6 separate regions of the Homo sapiens genome follow, and regions 1, 2, 4, 5 and 6 are each linked to region 3. The links are contacts of gene promoters, found by promoter capture Hi-C in blood cells and fetal thymus (Javierre and others, 2016). All regions are on one chromosome and are shown on one strand. Each heading gives the region's core, a stretch centred on a gene start or on the middle of the fragment in contact. The rest is flanking DNA. Distances are from core to core; before and after follow the strand shown. Region 1 overlaps CCDC187 (coiled-coil domain containing 187). Region 2 overlaps QSOX2 (quiescin sulfhydryl oxidase 2). Region 3 holds the start of NACC2 (NACC family member 2). Region 4 overlaps UBAC1 (UBA domain containing 1). Region 5 overlaps CAMSAP1 (calmodulin regulated spectrin associated protein 1). Region 6 overlaps CAMSAP1 (calmodulin regulated spectrin associated protein 1).

Region 1 (4,873 bases), core at 601-3,100, 170 kb after region 3:
CCTGGGCCTGCAGCTCGTGCGCTGGGACGACGTCCGTGGGCCCCGGGATGGGGAGGATGTCCACAGGCCCCGGCATGGAGACGACGTCCCTCTGATGCTGCAGAAGCAGCTTCCTGTCCCGGTGCCTGAACAGCTGCGTGTGTCTCAGGTATTGGATTTCCCTCTGAGCAGGCAAAATAAGCAGATGTCAGCATAACCCCGGAGCCAGCAGGGGAAAAGGCCAACAAAAGGGAAGGGGTGTCTGGGGGGATGCCCTGGCCCTCACACTGGGAGGCCTCCCTTTCCCTCCAATTGGCCTTTGCCCGCCCCTCCTGCCGGGCCTAGGATACCCCCATGGCCTTGGGCTTCCCTGGGCTTGGTGGAGGAGGCAGCTGCGGGCGGCAGGAGGGAGGCAGGTACTCTTTCCCCAGGGCCCACGCAGGGCTGGCACAGGCTGGCTGGGCCTCGCCCTCCCTCTCTGCAGGCTCCAGGCACTGCCCCCACCCCGTCACTCCTTTACAACTGTTCTTTCTGTTCCCCACAGCGTCCCTGGTGGACGCACCCTCGGAACAACCTTGCACAGAGCCCAGGGCCGGGCCGGGCCGTTGCACACTCGCCCTGGGAGACAGCAGCTTCACTGGTGAGACGGGAAAGCGAGGCTCTGCCAAGCGGGTGTCTGGTCCATGGCCCCACTGGGGAGTCCCAGACCCCACCTCCACCACGGCATCTCTATCTGCGACACGCAGCCTGGCTGTGGCTGGGAGTCCCTGGCCCCGGCCAGCTCCAGCTCCTCCCGCCTGGGATCCCTGGGCAGCGCCTGTTCTGCCAGGCCCCGTCGTTGCCATGTGACATGCAGACCCCTTCTAAGCCCCTTTTGTTTCCCCGGCTCACGTTGTTCTCTGTGGTGCCTGCCTTTTCCTGTTTCTCCGTATCTGAGAGGACCTGTGCATGGGTCTGTGGCCTGGGTCTCCGCCCCCAGCTCCCTTGCCTGTAATGCCCCATGCCTGACACCCCAGGTCGTAGTATGTACAGGGCATCCAGGGCAGGGATGGGGATCCCGGGGCTTTCCAGTCAACATAAGGTCCTGCACTGACCCCATTTCCCAGCAGAGGGTCGTGGGCAAAGTAGTCCCCCACCCCAGCTCACCTTTTTTTTTTTTGAAACAAGGTCTCACTCTGTTGCCCAGGCTGGAGTGCAGTGGTGCAAGCTCAGCTCACTGCAGCCTTGACCTCCCAAGCTCAAGCAATCCTCCCATCTCAGTCCACCAAATAGCTGGGACTATAGGCATTGGCCACCTATAGTGGCAGATTTATTTTTTGTAGAGACGGGGTCTTGCTATGTTGCCCAGGCCTGTCTCACATTCCTGGGCTCAAGCGATCCTCCCACCTTGGCCTCCCAAAGTGCTGGAATTACGGATGAACTGCCTCACCCAGCCAGGTTCTTTTATCTGTACCAAGGGTGTTAGCGCCAGCCTCTGCCCCACAGCATGGGGGCACTGAAGTGAGGATGCAGGCACAGCGGCCGCGACCTGTGAGGAGCCCTTGAGCCTGTGACCTGGGCAGGGGCCGGCAAGGGTCCTCGTCCTGGCTCTCAGGCTTGCCCCTCAGCCTTGCTCTCTGCCGCAGGCAAAGCCCTGACTCTGGCAGCTTTTCCCCCCTCCACATGTGCCCCCAGCACCGACTTTCCCTGGGGGTCTGCTTCCTCCAGTCCCTGGTGACAACGATGGCAGGAAGGCAGGTGCAGCCACGGATGGAGACCCCTCCCTGCCAGGCGCGGCTAGGGATTCACCTGCACCACCCTCCCAGCCCCCATGCATGTGCACATCAGGCTTCTCCCCATTTTTCAGATGAGGGAACTGGGCTCGGAGCAGCTGGGAAAGTCCTCTGAGGGCGTACATGGCACACGTCCACCCGGGTAAGTGCTGGCTGCACTAAACTCTCCCAACCCCCTGCTTTACAGAGACCACAATTATTCTCTGGTTCCAAGGAGGAAACTGAGGCTCCAAGAGACAAAGCCACTTGCTCAAGGTGACATCCAGCAAAAGGCTGAGCCTGGTCTGGAGCCAGGGCCACAGGGCCACCCTCCACTCTGGCCACGAGGCCCCCAGAAGGCCGCAGACACTCCTTGTGTACAGGACCACGCTCCACCCTGGCCGTGATGCCCTCTTGGGCCGTGGACACTCCTTCTATACTTCGGGGTCCTGTATGGCCCTGGAGGGTGGCAAGGGCTTGGGAATTCTTTAGCTCTGTTGCTGGGGAATGTTCAGATTCCAGGCAAGAAGATGACACGACTGCCTCTGTGAGCCGCCCACCCTGACCCACCAGGCCTGTGCTGGCCCCACCTGCTCCTTCTCCAATCTGCTGAGGGCTTGCTGCTGCTTCTCAACCAGCGCGGCCAGCACAGCTCTGTCCCTCTTGCTGTCCAGGCACCTGGGGGGAGGTGGCAACATCACTGCCAATGTTGACAGCCCGTGCAAGTGGATATAGAAAGTCACAGACACAGCCAGCCCTGGTCGGCCACATCAACCTGGAATGCCCTCCCAAGGTGCAGGCACCAGGGAGGACGCAGCCATGCGTGGACAGGCTTGGAAGCCTTGGGGTGGCCAGATGGCCCAACCCGGGCTGTCACTCTTCCACCCCTCACAGCCACTTTTGGACTTTTGGGTCTAAAGAGACAAAGGCTAGCCGAGAGCCGCCCCTGCCACCCTGAAGGCCCAGCCCAGGCCAGTGGGTCCTCTGGGGAGGGAGGTGGGGGTCACCCACATCCACCCCCCACCCATCATGGAATAAACACCCTCAGTCTGGCCCGCTCAGACACCGGGTGAGGATGTTAACTGGAATCACCTTTCTGGAGACCAATGTGGCAGTATCAAGCGGCTTCCAGATGCATTCTCACTGACCCGGTCATTCCATTTCTAAGGTTTTACCTTAAGGAAATGATCTCTCTATCTTCATTAATAATGGCAAAACGTTGGAGACAACCTAGAGGCCCGGAGATCCGGGACAAGCGAAGGGAGTTACAGCCCTGTCTCTACGCCGGTGCGCCCTGTGTGTTATAGCGGTTATGTAGCTACACAGAAAGGTTTTCCTGACATATAAATTGAAAACGCAAGTTACAAAACAGCACGTACTGCCCATTTGCAAGTTGAAATAGCCATGTGTGTTTCTCCCCAAAACAGAGTATCCGCACTGGGCGTGGTGGCTCTCGCCTGTAATCCCAGCACTTTGAGAGGCCGTGGCTGGCGGATCAACTGAGGTAGGGAGTTCGAGACCAGCCTGACCAACATGGAGAAACCCCATCTCTACTAAAAATACAAAATTAGCTGGGCGTGGTGGCGCACACCTGTAGTCCCAGCTACTCGGGAGACTGAGGCAGGAGAATCCCTTGAACCTGGGAGGCGGAGGTTGCAGTGAGCCTAGATCGCGCCACGCGCCTCTACACTCCAGCCTGAGCAACAAGAGCGAAACTCTGTCTCAAAACAAAACAAAACAAAACAAAAAAACAAAGTATGCACAAAGATGATCTCAGAGGTCACCTTTGGAACGATGGGGGTATTTTTTTATTTGTGTATTGAGTACTTTACTGCCTTATGTAAGTTTCAGCAAACACCTATTACTGTTTGGACCAGTACCTCTTGTTTCTCAAAACGCTGTCGGGGCCACGGGCGGGACCCGGACGGGGCAGGGAGGGGGCGGGGCTACAGCAGGGCGGGGCTACAGCAGGGCGGGGCTACGGCGGGGCGGGGCCGGCGCCAGGCGCATGCGCTCACCCTCGTCGATGCTCCAGCCAGGCCAGCTCCGCGAGCGTTTTCTCCTGGAGCGCCATCTCTCGCAGGCGCAGCAGCGCGGCCTGGTGCTGTGCTCGCAGCTCCTCCTCCCGCAGGCTCCGCTCCAGCATCTGCAGCTTGAAGCGGCCCAAGGCCCCTAAAGCTCTGGGTTCGGTGCTTCCGGGCCTCGCGGGGCTCCAGTAGGGTGGGCCGCGTCACCGCCTAGCTTCTAGACCGCTCCCAGCACAGGCCACCGCCTCCGAGAAGCCCTCTCGGACTGCCCGCCCCTCCCATCCCCCTATGCCGCCCTCGCTTCCCCGACTGTGAGCTGGCGGGGCAGGCAGGATCTTTAGCATCTCGGCCTCACCACCAGCCCTGATCCAGGAAGCCCAGGCCACCTGCCCTAAAATATACAACCTGGGCGGGGGCTAACCCTGCCCAAAGCACCATGTTGAAATGCCTGCCCCCCTCTGTCACCCAGGGCGGGAGGAACGGGCTTGGGTAGCTGTCAGCTGGAAGAGCGGGTGACGCGATCGCCGGAAGAACCTCCCAACCCAGGACCTGCCTTGGCCCTTCTTAGTGGAAGGACAGTTGGGTCCGGGGCCCACTACCAGGGCCGTGCTGGGTCCTGAAATTGTGCCTCTCCCCCAGGGGACCTCTCCACGTACCTGGTGGGTGGGGTTGTCCGGAGGGAAGAACTTGGCCAGGGGAAGCTGGGAGAGGGCTCCGTCAGGGCCCTCCACCTCTGAGGAAGGAAGCGCCATGGTTGGGTCATGTAGGGGGTCTGAGTGCCCCGTGTCAGGGGCCATTTCTACCGGAGGGCCTCATAAAAGTAGGAGGTCTAGGGCAGTTTAGTGTCCCCATCCCATCCCGGACACACAGGGCTTCACGCAGAATCCACAAGACCACGCGGGAAGGGACAGGCAGTCTCTTGATGTGAAGTTGTGGTTTGTGACCCTACTGATCATGGGAAAGACCAGACCAAAAGTAGAGGAAGCTCAGGGAGACAGCCCAGCTGCTCTGCGTCTACAGGCTTCTAAAGGAGGGGAGAGTGAGGCCCAGAGAGGGAGAAGGGCTGTCGGGGTCTAGCACCAAGGAGCTGGCAGGTGACAGCAGATCCCAGATCCC
Region 2 (5,032 bases), core at 1,693-4,192, 150 kb after region 3:
TAGGACGCTGAGGCAGGAGGGTCCCTTGAGCCCAGGAGTTCAAAGCCAACCCGGACCACACGAAGAGACCGATCTCTAAAACAAAAGGTCCCCTGGACACTGCAGTCTTGGCTGTCTCGGGTCCTCTGTGCTGGCCATGCCCCTGGCAGGGCCTTCACCTCGTGGCTCCTCTCCCAAGTCGCTGCCCTCTGACGCCTTGCTCTACCACCCAGGGCCACTCCAGTTTCTTTCTAATTGGTCTGTTCATTTTTCTAGGAGTTACAACCTATAGGTAACTCATTTATTTTAATTTGAGACAGGTCTCACTCCGTCACCCAGGCTGGAGTACAGGAGAGTGATCACGGCTCACTGCAGCCTCAACCTCCTGGGCTCGAGTGATCTTCCCATCTCAGCCTCCTAAGTGGCTGGGGCCACAGGAGTGGGGATCTTGCTATGTTGCCCAGGCTGGTCTTGAACTCCTGGGCTCAAGTGATCCTCCCACCTTCCAAAGTACCGGGATTACAGGCGGGAGCCACTGCCCCGGCCACTTCCTTGTTTTATTTGTCTTCCTGTTGACTGTCTGCTACTCCCTCTAAAGCACAGGCTTCCTCAGGTGGGGACCTCCCTGCTTTGTTCCCTGCTGTTCCTCCAACAGATGAATTTCCAGCGCAAATTCATCCCGGAGCGTGAATTCACGCAGAGCCCCTGCACACACTGCAGGGCGAGGGAAGTCCAGCTCCATCCACCAGTCCGCAGGGGCAGCACCTCGACCTGCCTCAGTAGAGCTACGCTCCCAACACCACCACCCCACTCAGGGTCAGTCCTGGTGAAGGGGCATGCGGGCACCCCACGTCGCCTTTGTCTGTCCTTGAAAGAATGCCAGGCCGTGTGCTCAGGGAAGGCCGAGCAGATGAGGGAGAATTTCAGTTACACAGGCCTCCCTCAGCAGCTGAACAGGCGCCAGGAGTACCGGCAAGGACTCGGCAGATGGACGGTATTCATGGCAACACAAAAGATATGGTAGTCCATATTATCAAATCAAATACAAAACACGTAAAAGGCTTAGCTTCAGGGCACTGGCCTCATTCAACGGGTACCCTCCCCTTCTCCTGCTCTGCCCACCTGTCTAGCTCTGAACCTCTAAAGCAGAATGCAAATGGCCTGCTTTCATTGGGCCTCTGGGGTTAGAGCCAGCTGAGAGGCACAGGGTGTGGCAGGGGCGGGGGTGCCCAACCCAGCACAGCCAGGGGGTTCCAAAGGGAGGCAGAAATGAGACCGCAGGCCTATTCTCACTTCTGCTCAAGAGCCTGGCTATTTTAGGACTCCAGTCTTAAAAATACTTGGGAAATAATTAAGCTTCTATATATAGTAGATTAACATTTATTTCAAATGTGCTTGTCAAATAACTCTAATACTGAATCTAACAAGGTTAACTCTTTACTGCTTGTCACGTTCTAATGAAAAAGTCTACAGAAGTCTAATGTATAGTCCAGTATCAAATCGTTCTAGAAAATGATTACAGTAAAGATAAAACAATCTCCCAAGTTGAAAGGCAACTAGGGAGCTGTGTTTAAGGGACAGAGGTCCACTGCAGCCTCTCCTTCCTGAGTCAGGGCCATGCTGGGGTCTCGAACTCCGCATACCAGTCCCTGGAGAAGACCCTCTCTGGGTGGAGCCCCCTCTTGGCTGAGCAAAGGTCTTCTTAGCTAAGCTCCAAGTTCAAGGCACAAGTTTGGAATAACAGGCCTGGGTAGAAATGAAACCCACCTAGCGACCAGGAGAGCCTAACACAAATCACCTAGAAGTTGCCAAGGGCTGGTCTGAGAAAACCCGGGCACACGCTACGGTCGCCTCATCTGGGGACTGAGGGCAGGGCTGGGTCCCATGGACTCTTGATCCCCAGCATTTAACTCAATTCTGGTAAACCAAAACTACACGTTCTTCAGCCTCGAAGGGTGCTCCGAGGTGACAGCAATTCCAATGCTGTTTATCTGTTGGTAGGGAATGACAGTCCCTCAGCCCGTCCTCTGTCAGGGAAGCCCAAGCAGTGCTTATGACCTGGGTCACCCCATGGCACGACGACCGGCATGACACAGCGGAGACGGCTCCCTGGACGTGGCTGTAAGGCCCTCTTAGCAAACCATCCCGTCTTACTTCAACAACAAGTAAGTGGCCTGGGTCTCTCGGTGTAGTCTCAGACGCACCAACCACAGCCACTGGGGAGGCCAGCGGGGAGCCCGGCTGCTCCGATGCACCATCCTTTCTGTAAAATACTCATGTGGTCGCCACAGCGGGGCTACATTAAGCCATTTCTGGGCCCGTAAGGAGACAGGAGGCCTCCACTGCCCAACTCTTCCTCCTTCCACCCTCTCCATCCTCCCGAGTCCAGTGAGCACCTGGCAGCTCTCACGGGCCGTCAGCCCCGCCAAATGCCCGCTGACACCTGCATGTCCCCCTCCCTCTGGCCCTTATTGTTTCTTTTTCCAGTAAACGGACAATGAGCCTGTGGGGAACACCAAGTTCTAATTCATCTCCAAGAAGCCTGCAGCCTAGTCGAGTAGACAAGAAACCAGACCAAGTGGGACAGAGGAGCTGGCAGCAATCACAGAATGCCCTACCCTTCCTTCAAGAGATGTCGGATGTGTCCAGCTCCCAACCCCCACCTGTCCTCTACAAAGACACAGGAATGAACTGCCATGGCTCCAGGTCACCCACACCTGGACACCCATCCCGGCCTGTCACTCAGCTGCGTGACCGTGACTATCCCACGCAACCTCACGTGCTATCACCTGCAACATGAGCGCCCCCGCACTCCTGAGGACAGGTGTGGGAGGACTCGGCCTGTTCCACGCAACCTCATGTGCTATCATCTACAACATAAGCGTTCCCGCCCTCCTGAGGGCAGGTCTAGGAGGACTCAGCCTGTTGTGGGTGGTGGCCTGCCCTGTTTTCTCAGGCTGACCAAGTGAAGGAGATGGGAGGGAACAGGCACCAGGGCCACAGAGGGCGCACGGGGACACAGGCCCTGCCTTTAGGGTGCACCCTCTTGTCCACTCAAGACTGCAGAGGCATTTCGGAGATCTCACCGGTCAGACGGGCCAAAGTGTAGCCCCAGGCCCTGGTGCCTCATCTTCCATCACAAACCCAGCAACCATCACTGCCAGGCAGATCTTCAGGAACCCAACAAGGTTTTGTTCTGCAAAGTACTTAGAAGTGACAGGCTTAAGCCAAATCTCCACAAACACTAGAATGACACTTGGTCACACCAAACAGTACAACTTTTGTTTCTTAAGCCACCTTCTTATAAGAAAAAACATTTATTTTCCCAGCCTTGAAAAAGCCAGTCAAGAGCTAAAGTTCAATCCAAATTTCTGAGGAAAACAAAGGTGCCCTGGCCTGTCCTGCTCCTTCCAGCTGGAGGCTCCTGGGAAGCAGAGCCCACACCTAACCATCCTCTCCAGCAGCCACAGGCATGAAGAACGCAGGGCGTGGCGGGCGCTGGCCAGGGGGACCAGTGGGAGAAGGCGGCTGGACACTCTAGGTAGAAGTGGGGGCCCAAGCCATGGCCTGTGTGCCCCCAGGGGATCAGCAGGATGACCTAAGTCACAGGTGATTGATCAGGGCCACAGGTGACTGATCTGAGTCAGGTCAACAGGGACATAAGAAAACATGAGAATGTTGACAACGGGAATGCCTGCATGCAGCCAGACCCCTGCACTGCCACGGGCAATGGGCGCCCTATCCCTGTGGGACAGCTCCACGCAGGGATGACAGACAGGGAGCCAGGCGCCAAGCAGACAGTTCTGAGCTGGCAGGTCTGGGCTGGGGCTGTGGAGAAGCAGGCATTTCTAACAAGGCCCTAAGTGGCCCTACTTTGAGAGTCCCAGCCTTAGAACAGCTCCGGGGACTCCTCAGTGCCAAGGGCCTTTCATCCCTTTCTACCCGGACTCTACCTCCCACAAGCCTCATGGGCACAGCTTGGCTCTCAGGACTGTAAACCAAAAATAAAATCCTGAGTCCCCTAACTGACTGAATTGAACCCCCTCTTGGCCAAGGAGACCCCAGGGCAACCTGAGGAAAGAAATTCCAGGCCCTGACGGCAAGGGAGGTCAGACACGCCTGGTTACATCACCTCCCTTTGGAGTTTAGGCAGAGCTGACCAGCGTGATGAAACAGAGATCACAGACAGACAGCACAGCCTCAGCAGCAACGACACCAAACTCCAGCCTGACTCGGGTACAGCACCACATGACAAATAGCACACCCTGCAGGAAATCAAAATATTTCACCCCCAAATACATTTATTTCCCTGACATATTTGAAATGGTCCTGCAAAGCTGTCTTTTGTGAGGGAAATTTGCATCTGTAGAGAATCTCCCTCCCTTTCTAGGTCTTTCCTGGATCTAGGAGACATTTAACGAGTCTGACAGCATTCAGGTCTGAAAAGAGACATTTACCCTCTATTCTCCCCAAGGCTGCTGCCTGTGAGGCTTCATCTACTTAACCTTGGCCTCCACAGCCCCTTTAGCTTAACTCAAGCATTTCTCTTTGCTGACTTCAAGTCTTTAGACAAAGCTTAACTCTTTCAATCAATTGCCAGTCAGAATCCACCTATGATCTGTAAACCTACCCCTTCCTATACCTTACATGTACTGATTTATGTCTCTCTGCCTATAACTTCTGTCTCCCTAAAATGTATAAAATCAAATTAACGTGACTGCCTAGAGCACACTTTCTTAGGACCTCTTGACACTGTTCCCCTGGCCATGGCCACTACACTTATTGGCTCAGAACAAACCTCTTTCAGTATTTTATAGTTTGGCTTTTTAGCCAACAGGACCCTCTGCCTGGGCTCCCTGAAGCCCTCTCCCTGCTGCCTGGTCAGGTCACCGCTGTCTTTCACTTTCAGCCATATCCTCCTCCAGTCTCAGTCTCAGGCACAAGCCTGTTCTTCCTGTCGTGACTGGGAAGACAGTCAGCCTCACTAAAGGAGGCTTACTGAGTTGAGTTCATCACACCACTGGGTATGGACGTTACTGTGTGGCTCTCAGGA
Region 3 (4,515 bases), core at 794-3,293:
CCGCTCAGCACCAAGATCGTCACTGTTGTTTCATGAATAATGCAGCCTCATGCTTTAATTGGAAAACAAAGGGAGGATTGAAGAATTTTTTAAAAGTCACCACTAGCCCCCTGCCCAGGGCAGAGCAGCCCTGCGAACCCTTCCAGCAGCCGGTGGTAAAGAACAGAGCCTGTTCTCGCAGCCTGTAGCAGCCCAGCTCCCACTGCTCCCAGCAGGAGATCTCCCGGGTGGCTCCTCCCCGCCTTCCCGCCAGGCCAGGGCCAGCACCATCGAGCCCTGGGTGTGACCACTGCGAAAGGATCCCTGGCCACTAAGAAGTGACAAGTGATATCTTGTTCCACTCTCTGTGCCCATTCCAAGTGGCTTTGCCGAAAGGACAGGGGGCCACCACCTTGGGTGGCAGCTCCTTTTATTTCCTCCCCTTGGACTCTGGCCCAGCTACCACCCAACAGTGACCCCAGGGGAAAACGCCAAGAGGCCTCTTTAAGGGAGGGGCTGGGAAAGGCCCCACAGAGGACCAGAGGGGTGCTCCAACGGTGGCCGGGAGAAGAAGGGGTGGGTGGCTGAGAGGTGGCGGGTGGGGCGGGGGCTGCCTGAACCCTGACCTAACTCTAGGCGCCCCTGCTGGGGGGTGCTACAGGCTAAAACACCCTGCAGAATGCTGAGCTGAGTGTCCCACTGGAGAACAGGAGGGAAGGAGGTCAGGAGCCTGCCAGACGAAAAGAGGGGTGGGTGAGAAGAAGGGGCGACCTGGAGGGACACGGACTCTGGCAGGAGAGTGCGGCCGCGCTGGCGGGCGGGAACACCAAGGTGCACGCGCTCCCGGAGGCAGCTCCACGGGATGGGAGTCCGGGCTGCCTTGGGCACCCCCGGGTCAGCACCCCCGCCACACACAGGAAGGAACGCGCAGCAGAGAACACAGCTCAGGGCACCCAGCGGCCCAGGGAGACGGGCCCACCAGCACGTGGGTGAAACACCTCCAATCCGGAGGCCCCGCGCGGGGGTTGGGGGAGGGAGTGGAACGGCCTGGGAGGCCAACTCCAGGGACCCGGCCTCGCGGCCTTCAGACCCACAGGTTTAAGCGGCTCCACGACGAGAGTCCAAGACCAAACTTCCCCCAGAGCCTGGCAGAGGGGCTGGGAGGTGACCTCTGACCTCCGACCCCACACGATCCCAGCAAGAGAAGCAGGAAACTCCGTCGGAAGGCCTCGGTCCGCCCTGGCCGTGCGGGGTGCGCGGCGGGCCCCGGGCTCCGCTGAGTTTCTTAGAGAAGGAGCTGGGGCCCCCCGACCTCAGCTCCGCAGAGGCACAGAAGCTGGCAAGAGGCAGAGCCCCCTCCCCCTGCGGCCGGACCCCAGTTTCTCCCCAGGCTGGGGCCCGAGTGGGGGAGGCGCGGGAGGCGGTGACGACCCACGAACGGGCCCACCTGGACCGGGAGGGCGAGGCGCGGGCCCGGCTGGGCCAGGCAGCTGCGCAGATGCGCCGGGAGGGGTGGGTACCTCCGCCCTGGCCCCGGGCCAGTCCTGCCCCGGCTTCCCCACCCGGAGGGCTGGATCGGCCAGTCGGGTCCCTGGGGAGGCCGCGCGGGTCCCCAGAAATCCAGGGAAACCCAGCAGGCGGCGGGGAGCGCCCCGGGACGCCCGGAGCCGGGGTCTCCCCGAACGCGCGGCGCGGCGTCCCGGCCCGGGGTCGCGGGCGCCTCCGCCGGGACCCCCCGGCCCCGCCCGGCCCCCCTCCGCGGGCTCCCGAGGCCGGTTCCCGCGCGCACGCCCGGGCCGGCGCGGAACTCGGCCGCACCCGCCCCGCGCGGCCGGCACTGCGGCAGGGGGCTCGCGCCAAGTTGGGCGGCCGCGGAGTTTGCGGGAAGTGCGGGCCCGGCCCGTGGGACGACCCCGCCCGGCGGCGTAACCCGGGGGCGGCCGCGCGCGCCAAGTTGGCGGTACCTGCGGGCGCCCGGCCCGGTCCGGCCTGGGCAGCTGCGGCGCGCCGCCCGCGGCAGGAAGTGCTTGGCGTCCCGGCGCTCCGGCTCCCATGGACTTTCTCCGACCTCGCCCAGCACCGGCGGCCGCACCGCGGCGGGGGCGGGGCGGCGGCGGGGGAGGTGCCCGCGGGCCGTTAAAGGGACAGCGCGCCGGCCGCGCGCGCGCGCGCACTGGCAGCCAGGTGGGCTCCCGGGGTCGGGGCTGGGGTCCGGGGGCCGGGAGGGTCCCCAGTGGGGGCCGGCGGGGCGTGGGGAACCCCGAGCGCTGGGGAGGGGAGGCGGCAGCTCCTCGCCCCTCGCGCGTCCTCCTTCCGGAGCTGCCGGCGGTCGACCCTGCGCGGGACACCCGGCGGGAGCCGGACGCCGCGGCGCAGAGGACGGAGCTCGGCGGCCGGGTCGGGAAAGGACCTGGAGCGCCGCCCTCCGCCCTCCCCGGGCCCCGGCCTCGGCCGGACTCGCTAAGCCCGGGAGAGCCCCCGGGCCCCCCTACCCCGCCCCCGGCGCGCGCCCTGCCCGCGGCAGTCGCGTCCGCACGGTGCAGCCTCCGGGATCCGGGCGGGGGAAGTGCGCGCATCCGCAGCCGCCCTGGACGCTCAGGCGGGCCGTGAAAGACGAGGATACGGGAGCGCCCTTGGGCGAACGTCTGCGGGGCTCCGGCGCCCGTCCCTGCGGCCCGGGAACTGCAAGCTGCCTGGACTGGGCCTGGCGCTGCCTTCAGGCCTGGTGTGATCCGGGCGCACTGGGGCGTTGACAGTCATTCCGGCACCGGCCACGCAGCTCTCCATCTGCCCAAGGCCACGCTCCTGAGGACAGAGGTGCAGTTTTAAAACAAGGGCACGGAAATAAAACGGCCACACACCCGGAAAGACCCAGAGACCCCTCCTCAGCTGCCCCCTAACCTGGGGCCTGAGGTCAGGACAGGCTGCAGTGGTCCTCAGAGGCTAAGCCAGCCTCACTCCCACAGCACGCTCAAGGGTCCTTGCAGGAGAATGGAGTGATACCGCCTCAGTGGTCCCGAGCGAGGGCGCTGGGAGAAGGGTTGAGAAGGAGATGGCCACCAGCATCCCAGAGAACGCCTTTGGGGCTCTGGGGATCAGAAACCTGGGGCTACAGCCCTTCTGGCACAGTCAGCCAAGGTCATTCCCTGGACAAATCATCAGAAGCTTGGCCAGGTTCTTGTCACCCCAACCTCAAGCTAGGCCCTTGATCTTGGCCACAGACTGGCCCTTGACCCCAACTTTAGGTTCTATTCAGCTCTGCGTCCAGAACACACACACACACACACACACACACTTCACTCCCTGGCTTGCCTTGTATGGGGGTGAGTATGGAACCCCGCAGGGACTCTGGGCTCTCCCCACAGAGTCCCATCTAGACCTAAATGCAGTCCCAGGTCCCACACCCCAACCCCCCTCCCCCCACCACTGCCACTTCCAAACCCGCCCCGCAGTCTACTGTGGGAAGGAGGTGGGGTAGGAGGGTTCTGAGTGCCTCCTACACCCAGGGCATGAGCTCAGCAGCCTCAGGGTTCTGGTGCTTCCTAGGCCTGACTTTACAATCTCTGCAGGATCTCTCAGTGAGCATAGCTACCCCAAGCCCCTGAGAATCGTGAATCCCAGAGACAGATGCCTGGAGCTGCTTCCAGCCCTGGGGCAGGCCTCAAGGGGCTACCCACTAGGACCCGTGGCCCTCCAGGGATGGGAATGATTGTTTTAATCACTTTTATTTTCTAAATATTAAAGACATTCTTCCTTAGTGAAGGATATTTGGAAAGCATTGAAAAGTGTTTAGAAGATAGCGGATAAGCAGAAATCAATTCCCCAATTTCTGTGTGCCTATACGTATGTACACCAACATATATTTGCACCTTTTAAAGCAAACCCTGCATCCCTACTGAATTCCAGGCCCGTGCTACTGAGTATGTACACCTTACCGCATTTAACGTTCACAACAGTACCATGAGGTGAGCTCTGTTTATTCCTTTTTTTTTTTTTTTTTTTGAGTCCGAGTCTCACACTGTTGCCCAGGCTGGGGTGCAGTGGCGCGATCTCAGCTCACTGTAACCTCTGCCTCCCGGGTTCAAGCGATTCTCCTGCCTCAGCCTCCCGAGTAGCTGGCATTATCGGCACGTGCCACCACGCCCAGCTAATTTTTGTATTTTTAGTAGAGACGGGGTTTCACCATGTTAGGCAGGCTGGTCTTGAACTCCTGACCTCAGGTGATCCACCTGCCTCAACCTCCCGAAGTGCTGGGATCACAGGTGTGAGCCACTGCGCCCAGCCTTATTCCCGTTTTACAGCTTAGCCTGGGGCTCACTCAGGGGTCCCCAGCAGGGCCTGGGCTGAGTGGGGCTCACCCCGGGTGCATCCTCCGCATCTCCTCCCTGCATTTGATCTTGTTGATTCCTGGCTGCTACAAGGGCCTGGGGGCCACAGTCTCAACTGAGCATAGCAGCACCGCTGCTATGGGTCTCCAGCTCAGGGAGGCCCCATCCGGGATCCAGGCCTGAGTTCTCACGGCCTTGCAACTTGATT
Region 4 (4,767 bases), core at 1,219-3,718, 140 kb before region 3:
AGAACTGTTTCGGATTTCGGGTTTTTTCAGATTTGGGAATATTTGCATTCCAAATAATCAACTCAAAAAGCACCAACGAGCACTTCCATTAAGTGTCATTTTGGCACTCAAAAAGTTTCAGACTGCGCTGCATTTCTGCGTTTGGATTTTCCGATGGGGATGCTGAGGCTGTGCGGTGTGAGGTGGGGCTTGTCGCGAGTGCTCCCTCACCGGCCACTCTCTGCATGCGCAGCCCTTATTCTGTGTGGTGGTTGGTTACCCACTTTCCTCCGTTTTTCTGTCAGGACTGACTTGGCTGCTTGAAAAGAGGAGGGAACAGGAGCACACGCAGGTGAAGGCGGACAGCAGCGCGGGAGTGAACCGTCACGCAGGATGTGTCCCTACCCTCCTCTCTGTCTCAGAAAACTCAGAGGCAGGTTTTCCGTGCTGGTCCCGTGAGCAGGGAGGGACCAGGACTGACACGGATTAAACAGGCTCTGCCGGGAGAGAGAACCCCTTATAACCACATCTACTGTAAATGGCGAATGCGTGGGTTGGTGAACAACTAGTATAGAGAACTTCTTTATAATTCTTTTTTTTTTAAGTTTGTATTTATTTATTTAATTTTGAGATGGAGTCTTACTCTGTCGCCAGGCTGGAGTGCAGTGGCACGATCTCGGCTCACTGCAACCTCTGCCTCCCGGGTTCAAGAGATTCTCCTGCCTCAGCCTCCTGAGCTGCTGGGACTACAGGCATGAGCCACCATGCCCAGCTAATTTTTTTTGTATTTTTAGTAGAGCCGGGGTTTCACCATATTTGCCAGGATGGTCTTGATCTCTTGACCTCGTGATCCACCCGCCTCGGCCTCCCAAAGTGCTGGGATTACAGGCGCGAGCCACTGTACCCAGCCTGTAATTCTTAAATGTAGACTTCTACCAACCAAGGTCCCCAATTGCAAACTTTGAAATTTACCTTTTCTTCTGCTGAGACATCAGCCATCTTGGGAAGTGGTGATGGAGCACGCTTTTTTATCAATAATAGGACATCTAGAAAAAACAACACGTATATCCAACACACTGGTTATCACTTCATATCCACAAAATGGCATAAAGGGTGCTGGATGCCCTGAGAACAGAACAGCAGGGATTCGGCCGGGCGCAGTGGCTCCCATCTGTAATCCCAGCACTTTGGGAGGCTGAGGCGGGCAAATTACCTGAGGTCAGGTGTTCAAGACAAGCCTGGCCAACACGGTGAAACCCCATCTCTACTAAAAATACAAAAATTAGCCAGGCGTGGTGGCGCATGCCTGTAATCCCAGCTACTGGGGAGGCTGAGGCAGGAGAATCACTTGAACCTGGGAGGCGGAGGTTGCACTGAGCCAAGATTGCACCACTGCACTCCAGCCTGGGCAACAGAGCAAGACTTCATCTTAAAAAAAAAAAAAAAAAAGAAGAAGAGCAGGGCTTCAGCTGGGTGCAGTGGCTCACTCCTGTAATCCCAGCACGAGGCAGGCGGATCACTTGAGCCCAGGAGTTCAAGACCAGCCTGGACAACATGGCGAGACCCCATCTCTACGAAAATATAAAAAATAGTTGCGCATGGTGGCACATGCCCGTAGTCCCAGCTACTTGGGAGACTGAGGTGGGAGGACTGCTTGAGCCCAGGAGGTCAAGGCAACAGTGAGCCTGACTGTGCCTCTGCACTCCAGCCTGGGTGACTGAGCGACACCCTGTCTCAAAAGAGCATGGGTTCCTTTGGTCCCCCCAAACCAAGCATCTACACCAGCCTTCCCTCACTTTTGCATGATATCTGCATGGCCCTAGCTGAGGTACAAGCTCCCAGGCCTGGCACGAACCCCCAGGTGACCCATGGCCCAGGAGGCAGGCACAGCACGGCCCCAATAATTGTGCAAAGAATTGGTGACAATCCTGCAACAGGCATTTTAACCGGCTCAGTTCTGAAAAAGTCTGTGAGGGTGGAGAGTTTAGTCTTAACCCTCAGAGGTCAAAACCTGAGATGCAGCTCATCCTCGGCCCACGACGGTGCCCATCCCCCACTGGCTTGGAGCTTGATGGTCATCTCAGCGGATATCTGTTAGCAATACTTCCAGGATTTTCAAAACAGCTTACTTCAAGGACTTCCACAATTAAAGGCATTATTTGAATGACACAGACAAAACTGATGTCTGCTCTTCAAGTGCCTCCAGACACAAAACCATAAGCAATTACATGGATGTGTGTGTCTAACACTGCACTGGGATGCCAACATCACCACAACGAAGGTGAAACCTGCAGAACCCCTGGAGTCTCTGGCTTTGCTCTGAAACAGAACTAAAAGCAAAATTCACATTTGGCTTCTCAAATGCCTGCTGCTTGTTCAATTTCAATTTCTGCTGTTTTTCACAAATACTCTATAACAGAACTCTTTTTAATAAAGGAAAAACAGAATGCTTTTAGTCGATCTCGTTTTTGTGCTCGTGTCCAGCTCAGAACACTGACTCCTGTGGGTGGACCACCCCCTCCTGGCTCCAGCGCCCCCAGCAGTGCACGATGCCTGCTGCCAACCCGCCCGCCCACAGCAGCCTTACCTTGGTCCTGGATGTTCTCTTCCAGGATGGTCCTGGCATCACTCAGCACCCTCTCTGAGGCAGCGTGGATTAATTTATGATGGGTTATACTTTTGGGATCTTCTAAGCTCCCATGAGCACACTGGGGAAAAATAGAAATTTCAAGGTAGAAAATAAGTAAATCGTAATTCTAATAATATAGGACCTGGCATCCCAAGCTACACCAGGAATTTACTGGGTTTTCTTATGAGCTAAGAAATTACACCATGGATGAAATTAAAGAATTCCCACTAATGGTAGATGCCAAATGAAGCATCATAGCACCAGTGAGCTGATCCCCAGCCCATGGAGTACTCCTGAAGCAAGCTCCCAGCTCTGATATACCACACCCTACTGACAATTCGCGGCCACCAGAATTGCTTCTTTGGTCTAGAAAGATCTGGAAAATAATTTTAAATGAAAACAGCAGATCCATTGTTTCCTGATGACCTAAAGATCTACCTAAGTTTTGGGTAGCTGTTTTTCTTTTTTCCACAGACGCATGAAAGGGGCCAGAAAGGCTGCCCAGAAAGAAGACTGGCTCACAGAGAGCCTGAGATGGGGATAAGAGGAGCGCTCGGCATGACTGCTCTCAGCTTGGCTCAGCTCACTAAGTAACAGCCATGCTGCATCCCGAGATTGGGATAAGAGGGGCACTTAGCATGACTGCTCTCGGCGTGGCCCAGCTCACGAAGCAACAGCCATGCTGCACCCCTGGGCGGCTTGAAGGTGGACCAATGGGCACGCAGTCACCAGGGCCCTGGAAACCCTGCCACACCCGGGCAGGGAACGGGAGGCAACACATGGGTAGCAGTGAGGGGATCCCCTTCACACACACCACAGCCACCTCCGAGCAGCGCTCACGGGGGACCTGGGAAGCCATCTTGACAGCTACTGAGTGCAAACTCCAGGAGGAAGTTGGAGCAGACGGCCATGACCCCTTCCAACCCTGCCATTACAAAGATCTCACAGCCAACTGCTGGCAGGGGTAGATCCTGCTCCTCAATTCGGCCAGCATCCTCTCTGCAAAACAGCACACAGCTGTCCCTGATTCATGCACGTGGCACTGGCTTGCGGGAGTCCTGCTTTCCTTTGAACACGGGGGCTAGGCGCGTCGGCTCACCATTTTGTGAAGAATGGCAAACACTGATGGTGCCGTGTGATGAAGACTGAGGTCGGCACATGTGCCTGCATGTTCGTGCCCAAGTCGGTCCAGAGCTCCACGACTCCACTCTATTATCTACCTCAGCACCATACAGCCCGACACACGACAGCACAGCACAGCACACCACCGCACAGCACAGCACCGCACACCACACCAAACAGTGCCCACCTAACCAAATATGGCGCCTCCCCAGCCGGAATCGTGGGGTGAGAGGAGAGGGGCTGCACTTCTGTGTTTCACAAAATACCCACAGTTTCCATAGCCTGGCCTGAAAACCCTTCAGAACTCAGAGCTTGGACGGAGAGAAGGCTGACTATTTTCTTGCTCTTACAGATCCCCTGAGGTTTGATGGTAGAATTACCTGACTATCAGAAAAGGATGAAACCCTCACTGGGCACTTTCTAAACCCGGTAGCAGGCTCAGCCTGTGGGTCAGGAGCATGGCCCAGCCTGGAGCTGGGCCGGGGCACCACCCCAGGACAGGCCGTCCTCGGACGTCTCAGGTGGCCGGGCAGACGCCCTGCTGGCAGCTCACTTTCCACCACCCTTTGCTGCCACAGAGGCTCTGAAACACCCAGCACACACAACTGCTTGCTGGGAAAGAAAATCTAAGCACACACTTCACCTCTCAACACTGGCATTTTCAGAGTAACTGGAATTTCTGTTACTCTCAAGACTGAAAACGGTTTTGAAAAAGGGATTGACGGCTTCAGGGGCTCACTCCTTCACACAAAACTGGCCAGGCTGAGGGGATGTTGGGGGGACGCAGCTACTAGGAAGACACACTCCTGCCATTTACAACAGGGCAGAGAACCCTCAAGTGCCTCTGGATTTGACAATGGCTCTGCTCCCTGAAATACTGGGGGTGCTTCCTCATGATCCTAAAGTTTGCAGGCTAGTTCATTTGTCAAGTTCAGAATACAGACTACGAAATGCAGTTTTCCAAAATAATTCTCATACTGATTCCCAAAAAACCCACAGTCCACGTGTCACCAGCACACCAGGAACAACACGGAAGC
Region 5 (4,699 bases), core at 2,078-4,577, 210 kb before region 3:
CATTCCTGTAATCCCAGCACTTCAGGAGGTCAAGGAGGGAGGACTGTTTGGGCCCAGGAGTTCGAGACCAGCCTGGGCAACACAGTGAGACTCCCTCTCTACTAAAAATTAAAAAAAATAAAAAAATTAATTAGCCAAGCATAGTAGCACGTGCCTGTGATCCCAGCTACTCAGGAGGCTGAGGCAGGAGGATCACTTGGAGCCTGGGAGGTCAAGGCTGCAGTAAGCCATGATCGTGCCACTGTACTCCAGCCTGGGGGACAAAGTGAGACCCTGTCTCAAAAAAAAAAAAAAAATTTAAAGGCACTCAAAGTACCGACATGTGCTGCATTTTCAGATATAAATTCATCACCCTCTACTCTCGGCCTGCGGGAGAAACACCTGCTTGCTTTGCTTCTTTTTAACTACAGCAGACACATTTCTGGACACAAAATATGACTGGTCCCAAATGAAGGGCTGGGTCTCAGCGTGACAGACAAGGTGTGCTGCTCTCAAGTGAAAAGGAGACCGGCCACAGAAGCAGAGTCACACACCACATCTAGGCAGGGCACTCACCTTGTTGATCCAGAACACCATGGCATCCTCGAGGTCGTACGGAAGTTCTTTCGAGGCACTGAACGTTGAGAAGCGCTTGACACTGGCCACCACCTTCTCGATGCTGATCATCTCCACAGTGTAGGCCATCATCAGGGCATCCACCATTGCCATGTGGGCACTCTAGGGGCAGAGGCAGCAGCTATAATCCCTCAAACCCACCCCTCTTACCAGGTTCTGATGCAGGGAACCTGCTCATACTCAGCATTCTGGCCTAATTTCTTCATCCCTCGCCCTTTCCGTCTGAAGAGATACTCAGATTTGAGACCTGCCTCCCCCGCACCATCACTGTTCCAAGCCTGGCATTTCTGGTCAAGCCTCAAGACCGTCTGGAACCAGGAGTCCGTTCTCAGGCAGGCAGGCCAGCCCTGTGGCCCACAGTGCACTGTCTCACACTGTCCTTTCTTATCTCCTCAACAGCCCTGTGGGACTCCCAGGAAAGGCGGTGCAGCTCCCAGGTCGTGGTTGTGGGAAGGCAGACAGGAGACCTGCCCCAGGCCAACTGCCCACCAGAGGCCTCTGGCTCCTAGTCCAGAGCTCTACCTGCTACAGCTGCACCACGCCTTAGTGCAGCTTCCTCATTCGACAGGAATGACACTCTCTTCAACCACCGCACGGCACCCGCAGTCTCACCGGGAACGCCATGGGAGCAACCAAACAAAGGCAGTGCAGGAGGCACCGAGAATGGCCCTGACCCAGAACGCTCTGGAAAAGGCACACCAGTAGCAAGGCTTCAGAGAAAGATGGGGGTGGGATACTTGGGGGAGAAAAAGGCAGACTGAGTTATTTTAGCACAAAGTATGCATGAAACAACCTAACAGAATGGGTGCAACAATTACATTTCTCATCTGTAAAAAGTCTGCTTCAAGTATTTTTATTAACAGGCCTCACTCCAATCTCAGCATTCACAGAGCATTCCCAATGAGAAAAAGAGCTCAATGAAAGCTCTCTTTTCCCCATTCTCCACAACAGTCATGTGCTTTAAAAGATATGCAGTTTCCTAAGGAACGCCAGTGTGCAAAAGCACGGGTCTCCACCACCTCGCCGCACACCGTGTTCACACCATCCATGCACCAGGTGCGCCACACGAGAGCCCACGGCTCCAGAGGATGGCCCCTGGGGGCGGCCACCGCAGACCACTCACCATTTTTATGGGTGCGCGACTGAGGTCGGACTCTGTCACGGGGGTGTCATCACTCTCCATCACATAGATCCCTTTCCGGGACAGGGCCTGGATGACAGACTGGTGTCCCTGTAAGGCGGCCACCTGGTCCCCTTTCAGGATGAGGCTGCAGACACGGCAGTACAGCTCGCTGGACAGGAGAAGCTTGATAACAGGCGGCTTAATGTGCTCCTGCTCATACTGGTCAACGTAGAAAGGGTCTCTGAGGTCCTCAGGGATGTTATCTAAGACAGGGAGGGGATGACCAGGTGAGTGCCACACACAAGACCCAAAGGAAGGAGTTCAAGGCTGCAGTGAACTATGACTGTGCCACTGTACTCCAGCCTGGGCAACACAGGGAGACCAAGTGTCAAAAAAAATAATTGATTGATTGATTAAATGAGCAACTAACAACGTGAAAAGGCTCTAGGCTTTTCAATAATTCTACTGTCTTCTGTACTTACAAAGGCAACTAACTGTAGCATCTCAGACTACTCTGTGAACACAGACAACTGAAATCATTTCGTGACCTCCACCGTGACCTCAAAGGATGACTGTCCTAACTTAACAGCAGTAAGAAGGTAGACATGGGAGCCCTGAGTGTGTTAATGGGGCTGAGGGGAAACCAGCACAGGCTAGGACCATGTAGTGCCTGGGGACACCAGCGGAGACAGCATGTGGGCAGGGCTGGCATCAGCCCGGGGAGGGAGCCCAGCATCCTCTTTCTGACATGAAAATCAGAAGTGATAACAGAGGGTGAACACCCATGGTCTTTACAGAAGAGGGAGCCAGGCAGGCGTGGTGCCACTGTAACCATGACGACACAGCAGCAGCAGCAGCAATCAGCCTTTATCCATTTTTGGACCAGGCAGCATCAAACTCTTGACATGAACCACGCTACTTAATCTTGCCACTGCAGTTCCCTCAAATGAGGACTACCATCTGCACATTACAAATGAGAAATTGAGGCACAGAGAAAGTAAGTGCTCAAGGCCACAGGAGGCAGAGACCAGCCTGAACCCACACAATCTGATCCAGAGAGCCTACTGTATACTTCCGGCTGCAACATACGCCGCCTCCCACACAAACAGCGCAGGAGCAGCATACACACGGGACACCGAATGTGTCACAGCTGGCCTCACCCACTTTTCTAGCCTTGCCACTATGCCCCTCACACTGTCTCACAAGACATCAACGGCTGTCCCACTAAAGACGGAGGACGAGGGATGTCTGCAGTCAGACACATTTCGGAAACACGTGACCCCCAGGTCTTTAATGTGCCCCGCGCCCAACACTCTGCTAGGAGGTGCAGATACTCCCACCTCCACAGAGTTTAGAAAGGACTACCACCTCCACAGAACAGCTCATGAAGAAACCCCACTGACTCCTAGCGTTCAGACAACCAGTAACACTAGAGACATTCATGGGGACACTAACAAACCTGTCTTGTGTTCCGAGCCAAGCTCTCCTAAGCTCTTCCCCAGGGGAAGAACCAGCTGTGGCGATGGTTCCCCACAGCACCCCTCTCTCTCTGCTGCCATCTCTTCTGGCTTCCTTCACTATTTTCCTGAGCCCTGAGTCACTTCATTATGGTCCCATGGAGTCTGGTCATTTCCCCACAATCTGAGCACCTCATAGCTGGTTTACTTCTAAACGGCAGCAGTCACCGTTTACACAGCATTTTTGTTTTAAGCATGGTTGTACACAATGATTAGGTCATCACGGCAACCCAAGGGCAGCCAGGGCTCCAGCTATGGAAGGCTGGCTTAGTGGATGTTAACAGACTCAAATCCTATACTTGCTGACCACATCGAGTAGCCCCCTAATCTGAAATCATTGGAACTTTTGAAATACAACAGAGCACAGCAGTAACACAAGGAACAGGCCCCAATGCCAAGCACAACGGGAAGACTTCTGCTGTCCTTACAAACTGCTCAAGGAAAGCTGACCTGCAGAGGTGAGCACAGAGCCACCCCGCACACGCCGGAGTGAGACGTCCCAGGAAACAAGAGCAAGGTGGCCAGGGACAAACAGGCGGCCTGTGGGCCCATGTTTGTCCAAGTTCCCTCCACCCATGGGCCGTGGAGGGAAGTCAGGGGAGGGCACTGAGCAAGGGATCCCATAACCTGAAAACGTTTGCAGCAGTTCACACCGGCTGCGGGGAAAGATGCGACAGTCACTCTCAGCCTTCCTCTTATTCAACTGACCACACCAGCAGCCCACCTAGTCAGGGCTCTTGGAGGGAGCTGCCTTTCTCCTTTCGGGGTACCTGGCCTCTTCCTCCCATCTCGCTGCCTGCTCCATCCCCATCTCCTAGGCCAGCTGCCCCTCACTTCTCCAAATATTGGAAGGGGCACTTCCTATCTCACTCCTCCCTAATGACCTAATTCAGTCTCATGGCTAGAAATACCACAGACACACAGTCATCCCCAAATGTACATTTCTGGCCCTGATCACTTCCCTGAACTGCCTATCTGACATCTCCATGTAGATGTCTGGGGGCACCTCGAGCCTAACCGGCCTGGTCCAAGCCACCCTCTCCTCCCACTTAGACAACTGTGATGCAGTCCCCCTAGGAGAGCAGAAACTGGCACAGCTGAGGAGAAAGGCCCCAGGGGACCCCTCAGAGTGATGGCTCTGTGCAGAGTGGGAGACGGGACAGGCACGTAAGTGGAGGGCTGGCATTAGATGGAAGCAGGGTGAGCCCCAGGGAGAATGGCAGAGCCTACCTCACAGATGCAGAAACCTGGCCAGACAGGAAAAAGCAACCATGGCTCTGATTTAAGTTTCTCTTTTACAATCTACCAAGTAGAAACGTTTGCCATAGGGTGACCCACTTTTAAAATTAATCAATATAAAGTGATTCATATAATCACCTTTTTGAATCATATATGAATATGCATAACACAACTAATTCACATAAATTTCAGATGCAGGAAAATG
Region 6 (4,781 bases), core at 49-2,548, 230 kb before region 3:
ACAACAACAAAAAAACAGTTTTGGGTGCGAGCAGTTTTTAATGGAAGCAAGTGATCGCGACAGGATGGCTCTGTAGATGGCAGCTGGCGGCTTGGGGTTCACTTACAGGCACTAACTTCCAATACCACTTGGAGGGAGACTGCTCAGGAAGCGAGAGAAGGAAGGCAGGAGAGGAGCATCAGCAGAGCAGGTCCACGTGTGGACGAGGTAACACACACTTCCCCACGGCGTTTACACGGCAGAGGCGGGAGAGCCTCTGGTAAGCAAAGTCTTCTAAGTGTACGTGGCCATAGTCATGTTGTATTAGCAGATGATTAAAGTGGAAGATCACGAGTCACCTCCACAACACTATTCTTTGCAGTAGCAAAGAAAACTTCGGAAACTTGGTATGGGCTGGGTACCAAAAGGCAAGAAGTCAGCTCTGACGCGGGAAGGGTCTAGTGCTTAGTCTGTACCCATGTGTTAAACATGACCATCTGAGGAACAGGGAGGAAGCTCAATGCTTAAGATCCAGATGAGGGAGGCATACCAGGCGGCCTGACTCACCCACCCACCCAGCTAACAAATGCATGGCCAGGGGCTGGTGCCACTGGAGGGGGAAGAAGGAACAGGGGAAGGCAGCACACTGCCCTTCAAAGGCGAGACCTTATAGATGGTCGGGCTGCATCTTGTGTGCACTGAACTGAGTGAATTCAGTCACACATGTGCTTGCAAAAGAGAAAATAACGTCAGAGGAAGAAAAAGGCTAATGGCTGGAAGGTGCAGCCCAGCCATCGTGCTACTTCAGTAGGCACGTAGGGTTCATCCAGCAGAATCATGGCACAGGCACACAGGTACACCACCAGCTACGCTGTACCTCATGAGCCACTTAAGGACTTTTCGAGGGCATCTTTAGCAACAGGCAATTTCCCCCTTGTTTGTTGACTTGTGGAAGCTAGCACCCAGGTGGGCCCTACGTCCCTCACTCAAGCTTCCCAATTCCCCCAAATACCCTCACGCACCATAAAGTGCAATACAAAACACCCCTTCCCAGGAGAGGCGGGGCAGGCTGCCGTGGTCACATCTCACTGAGGTGTGGAGAATCAGCCCACCAGGTGAATCCAAGAGACTAGCTGCTTCTTTGGTGAGTAAAAATAGAGAATAAGCAAATAGTGGGAACTAACAGAATTCTTTAAAATTGGGACCAACATTAACTTAGTGCATTCCAGAAAAATTAAATTTACCCTTTACCTTTTGATGAGCTGGACTTTCCAATAACTGTTGTTTTAATTTAACTTCTTTCTCTGTTATCTCTCTCATTTTAAGATTTACCTAAAGTAGAAGAGAAATGCATTAAAGAGGTAATTGCTGTCCCGCACAATTGTATCTCCACAATTATCCCCCAGAGACCCCCACTTCACCTGATTCACCTCTGACTCCTAGACATAGGTATTGTTTAGGCCAATTACACAGATACAGAAGTACACGGATTCCACATGATCCACAACAAGGTCCGCCTGCTACCACCAGGAAACCACCTGCCCCCGACCCCCACCCCAATGCCAGCGCAGTGCTCCCCCGTCACTGCGGGGCAGAGTCACTACATCTTGGCAGTGGTCACTCACCACACAAGTACTGTCAAACAGCTAAGCTTCTCCAACACCAACAGCAAATGCCACTTACAAAACAATCTGGTGGAGACACCTCACTAAAGAGCCTAACTTGTGACAGGATGGGTCACACATCCCAGACCATGCAAAAATCATACCAAACCAAATCTAATTATAAAAGTTTAACTATACACCCCTTAAAAATTAATTCAACTTCTTAGAAATTTAAGTATTCTCTCCTGTAATTACTAACTCAATATCAAAATTGCAATCATAAAGTATGGAGAAAAACACTCAGCAGTGCTTAAAGGGGCTAGGTAAAAGCCATGATCAGACAAAAAGACACAGAGCTGAATGCTTCGTCATCAAACAACACAGACAAAGGAGTCCACCATGCACATCAAATCAGGAGTACGAAAAACTGTTTTTAAAAATAAAGACAAAAAAAATATAGATAATGTAAAATTCAATCAATGAGAAAGTAGAAGAAAGGATATTTAAATCCACAACCAAGTTTTGTATGCATGATTAAAAGAGTCCTTTGCAAAGGACGAGTGTGGCAGCTCACACGTATCATCCCAGCCACTTGGAAGGCTGAGGCACGAAGATCACTTGAGTCCAAAAACCGCACGCCAGCCTAGGCAACACAGCAAGACCCCCCTCTTTTTTTTTTTTAAAAAAAAAGTCTGTAAAGCTAATCAAGAAAATGAATGAAAATACCAATACATAACATGAAACAGTCATATTTTTGGAGGAAAGTCGAAGCCACTAAAAAAGCACCACGTAAAAACACATCCTTCTTAAAATGTAAATTAATTTGAAATTTTTAATGAAACTAACATTTTAAAGGAAAATATAAATTACCAAAAAATCAAGAAGACTAAACAGAGTAAATCAAACATTTGCTTGTAACTCTGATCCCTGTGAAAATAATACAGAAAAGATAATTTAAAAGCTGAAAATCCACAGGACAAACAAGGCAAGAGGGGAACCCTGTAAGCAAGGGAAACCTACACAGAGCAGAGCCAGTGCAGCCCCAGTGCTGGAGAAGAGATGCCAGGCAGGGGCCCTGCAAACAACCCCAAGACGCCTCCCATCCTCAGACCAGAGACAAGGCTGCAGACAAGACAACGGTTGAAAGTCAGTGTCTTAAAAAGTTGGAGCAAGAACCCAGTCCCACCTCATCCCACAAAGTAACCCCAGCAGCATAACAGAATGGAGCCATATTTTCACCTGAAAGAAAATTCAGTCAACCTAAAATTTTATATCCAGCCGTATATTTGGAAAATGAAAGCAAAATGTCTTTTTCAGAAAAAAAAACAAAAAAGCTGAGAGAATTCAGTAGAACTGCTTGTAAAAAAAAAAAATGCTAAAAGAAGTTTTTTAGGCTGAAGGAAACGATACAGATGGAAAATATTTTATTAAATCTCTACCTTATAGTACAACTTCTTTTGTATTCCATGACCACATGGTCAGCAGGCACAAAGCACCTCTCCTGTGGTCCAAATGACATCAGTGACCTCGGGACATGCACCTGTGCACCTGACTGAGTTACAAGCTGAGCCATTAACAAACCAGTTATTCACATTTGCAAACATGTTAAGACATCATCTCAAAACCAAAGAAGTGTTTTTTGTTTTTTTTTAAATGAATGTCTGTCACTAAAAGAAAACTACTTTTTTCCAGTAATAAAATTTGAATTTCAGAAAAAATTTAAATTTTGGAAAACTTGTTTCTGCCACCAAAAGCTAGATAACTTCCTAACATGTAAAGGCTTTTCTGATGAGATTGGCAATTTTTTTTTTTTTTTTTTTTTTTTTTGAGATGGTGTCTTGCTCTGTCGCCCAGGCTGAAGTGCGGTGGCATGATCTCGGCTCACTGCAAGCTCCGCCTCCCATGTCTCGCCATTCTCCTGCGTCAGCCTCCTGAATAGTTGGGACTACAGGCGCCCACCACCACGCCTGGCTAATTTTTTGTGTTTTTAGCAGAGACAGGATTTCACCGTGTTAGCCAGGATGATCTCGATATCCTGACCTCGTGATCCACCTGCCTCAGCCTCCCAAAGTGCTGGGATTACAGGTGTGAGCCACCACGCCCAGCCAAGATTGGCAATATCAATGAATGTAAGTTTTGATACTGTGTCATGAAATGTGACAACATTTGGAAGATCTACATAACTCAGTGAAACAATTTTCCGAATGACCAAAGCATGAAGCTGCAAAACCCTGGGTGGGTAAAAGGTCCAGGAAGAATGCAAGAACTAGAAATGGTTACTATATAGTAATAACAGAGTATAAAAACTCACTGATCTAGTACCCAGAATCTATAAAAGAACAATACAACCATAAAAAGACAATCCAATTTTTAAATAGGCAAAGGGTATGAATTCCTCCAAAGAAGATATACAGTCAGGCACGGTGGCTCACACCTGTAATCCCAGCACTTTGGGAGGCTGAAGCAGATGGAGCTCTTGAGCTCAGGAGTTCAAGACCAGCCTGGGCAACATGACGAAACCCTGTCTCTACAAAAAATACAAAAATTAGTCAGGTGTGGTGGCTCACACCTGTAATCCTAGCTACTTGAGAGGCTGAGGCAGGAGAATCACTTGAACCCAGGAGGCAGAGGTTGCAGTGAGCCACGACCGCACCACTGCACTCCCGCTTGGGCAAAAGGGCGAGACTCAGTCTCAAACAAAAAAAAAAAAAAACAGCCAGAAAATAACAAATGTTAGCAAGGATGGGGAAAACTAGAACCCTCAGATGCAGCCAGTGGGAATGCAAAATGGCACAGCTGCTGTGGAAGACAGTCTGGAAGTTCCTCAAAAAGCTAAACACAGAATGAATACATGACCCAGCAATTCCACCCCAGGTACATACCCAAGAAAAATGAAAACATGTATTCACACAGGAAACTTGTGCATGAAATCAGCATTATTCACAATAGTCAAGATGCAGAAACACCACAAATGCCCATCAACTGATAAATGAATAAACAAAACGAGGCGTAAGCACACAGTGGAATATTATTCAGGCATAAAAAGGAATGAAACGCTGACACCCGCTACAACACAGAAGAACCCTGGAAACATGCTCTGTGAAAGATGCCAGGCACGGAAGATCACATACTGTATGATACCATTCATAAAAACTGTCCAGACTGAGCAAACCCATGGATACAGAGTAGACTGCTAGT

Evidence for each region. Contacts are between HindIII fragments. The CHiCAGO score rates a contact against its expected background, and 5 or more counts as called.
Region 1: a fragment that was not itself captured here is called in contact with the fragment with the promoter of NACC2 in region 3 in 2 of 17 cell types (megakaryocytes and naive CD4 T cells); the score reaches 5.3 in megakaryocytes.
Region 2: a contact is called between a fragment that was not itself captured here and the fragment with the promoter of NACC2 in region 3, in 8 of 17 cell types (total CD8 T cells, naive CD8 T cells, megakaryocytes and 5 more). The highest score is 9.7, in total CD8 T cells.
Region 4: a contact is called between a fragment that was not itself captured here and the fragment with the promoter of NACC2 in region 3, in 2 of 17 cell types (megakaryocytes and M0 macrophages). The highest score is 6.0, in megakaryocytes.
Region 5: a contact is called between a fragment that was not itself captured here and the fragment with the promoter of NACC2 in region 3, in 1 of 17 cell types (M1 macrophages). The highest score is 5.5, in M1 macrophages.
Region 6: a contact is called between a fragment that was not itself captured here and the fragment with the promoter of NACC2 in region 3, in 7 of 17 cell types (megakaryocytes, naive CD4 T cells, monocytes and 4 more). The highest score is 9.6, in megakaryocytes.

The regions. Positions count from the first base shown.
Region 1 is chr9:136,263,636-136,268,508 of GRCh38, forward strand. CCDC187 (coiled-coil domain containing 187) reads right to left here. Exons shown (of 26, transcript NM_001378188.1): 15 at 4,414-4,490; 16 at 3,749-3,876; 17 at 2,321-2,408; 18 at 1-163. Among named protein-coding and RNA genes, the nearest start is that of QSOX2, 20 kb to the left of the region's middle. RefSeq lists silencers at 3,602-3,761, 3,826-4,201 and an enhancer at 4,002-4,071. The HindIII fragment of the contact is 7,726 bases long and covers 1-4,873 here.
Region 2 is chr9:136,238,910-136,243,941 of GRCh38, forward strand. All of the region lies in intron 1 of QSOX2 (quiescin sulfhydryl oxidase 2), which reads right to left. Among named protein-coding and RNA genes, the nearest start is that of QSOX2, 4.4 kb to the right of the region's middle. RefSeq lists an enhancer at 304-832 and a silencer at 1,048-1,177. The HindIII fragment of the contact is 3,219 bases long and covers 1,334-4,552 here.
Region 3 is chr9:136,093,246-136,097,760 of GRCh38, forward strand. It overlaps NACC2 (NACC family member 2), which reads right to left and starts at 2,044. Exons shown (of 6, transcript NM_144653.5): 1 at 1,944-2,044. RefSeq lists an enhancer at 60-751 and silencers at 1,957-2,086, 2,407-2,506. The HindIII fragment of the contact is 6,619 bases long and covers 1-3,142 here.
Region 4 is chr9:135,952,729-135,957,495 of GRCh38, forward strand. It overlaps UBAC1 (UBA domain containing 1), which reads right to left. Exons shown (of 10, transcript NM_016172.3): 2 at 2,567-2,687; 3 at 952-1,025. Among named protein-coding and RNA genes, the nearest start is that of UBAC1, 6.3 kb to the right of the region's middle. The HindIII fragment of the contact is 9,505 bases long and covers 1-4,767 here.
Region 5 is chr9:135,881,078-135,885,776 of GRCh38, forward strand. CAMSAP1 (calmodulin regulated spectrin associated protein 1) reads right to left here. Exons shown (of 17, transcript NM_015447.4): 2 at 1,739-2,001; 3 at 556-717. Among named protein-coding and RNA genes, the nearest start is that of CAMSAP1, 24 kb to the right of the region's middle. The HindIII fragment of the contact is 2,817 bases long and covers 1,920-4,699 here.
Region 6 is chr9:135,865,226-135,870,006 of GRCh38, forward strand. CAMSAP1 (calmodulin regulated spectrin associated protein 1) reads right to left here. Exons shown (of 17, transcript NM_015447.4): 4 at 1,231-1,311. Among named protein-coding and RNA genes, the nearest start is that of CAMSAP1, 40 kb to the right of the region's middle. The HindIII fragment of the contact is 660 bases long and covers 969-1,628 here.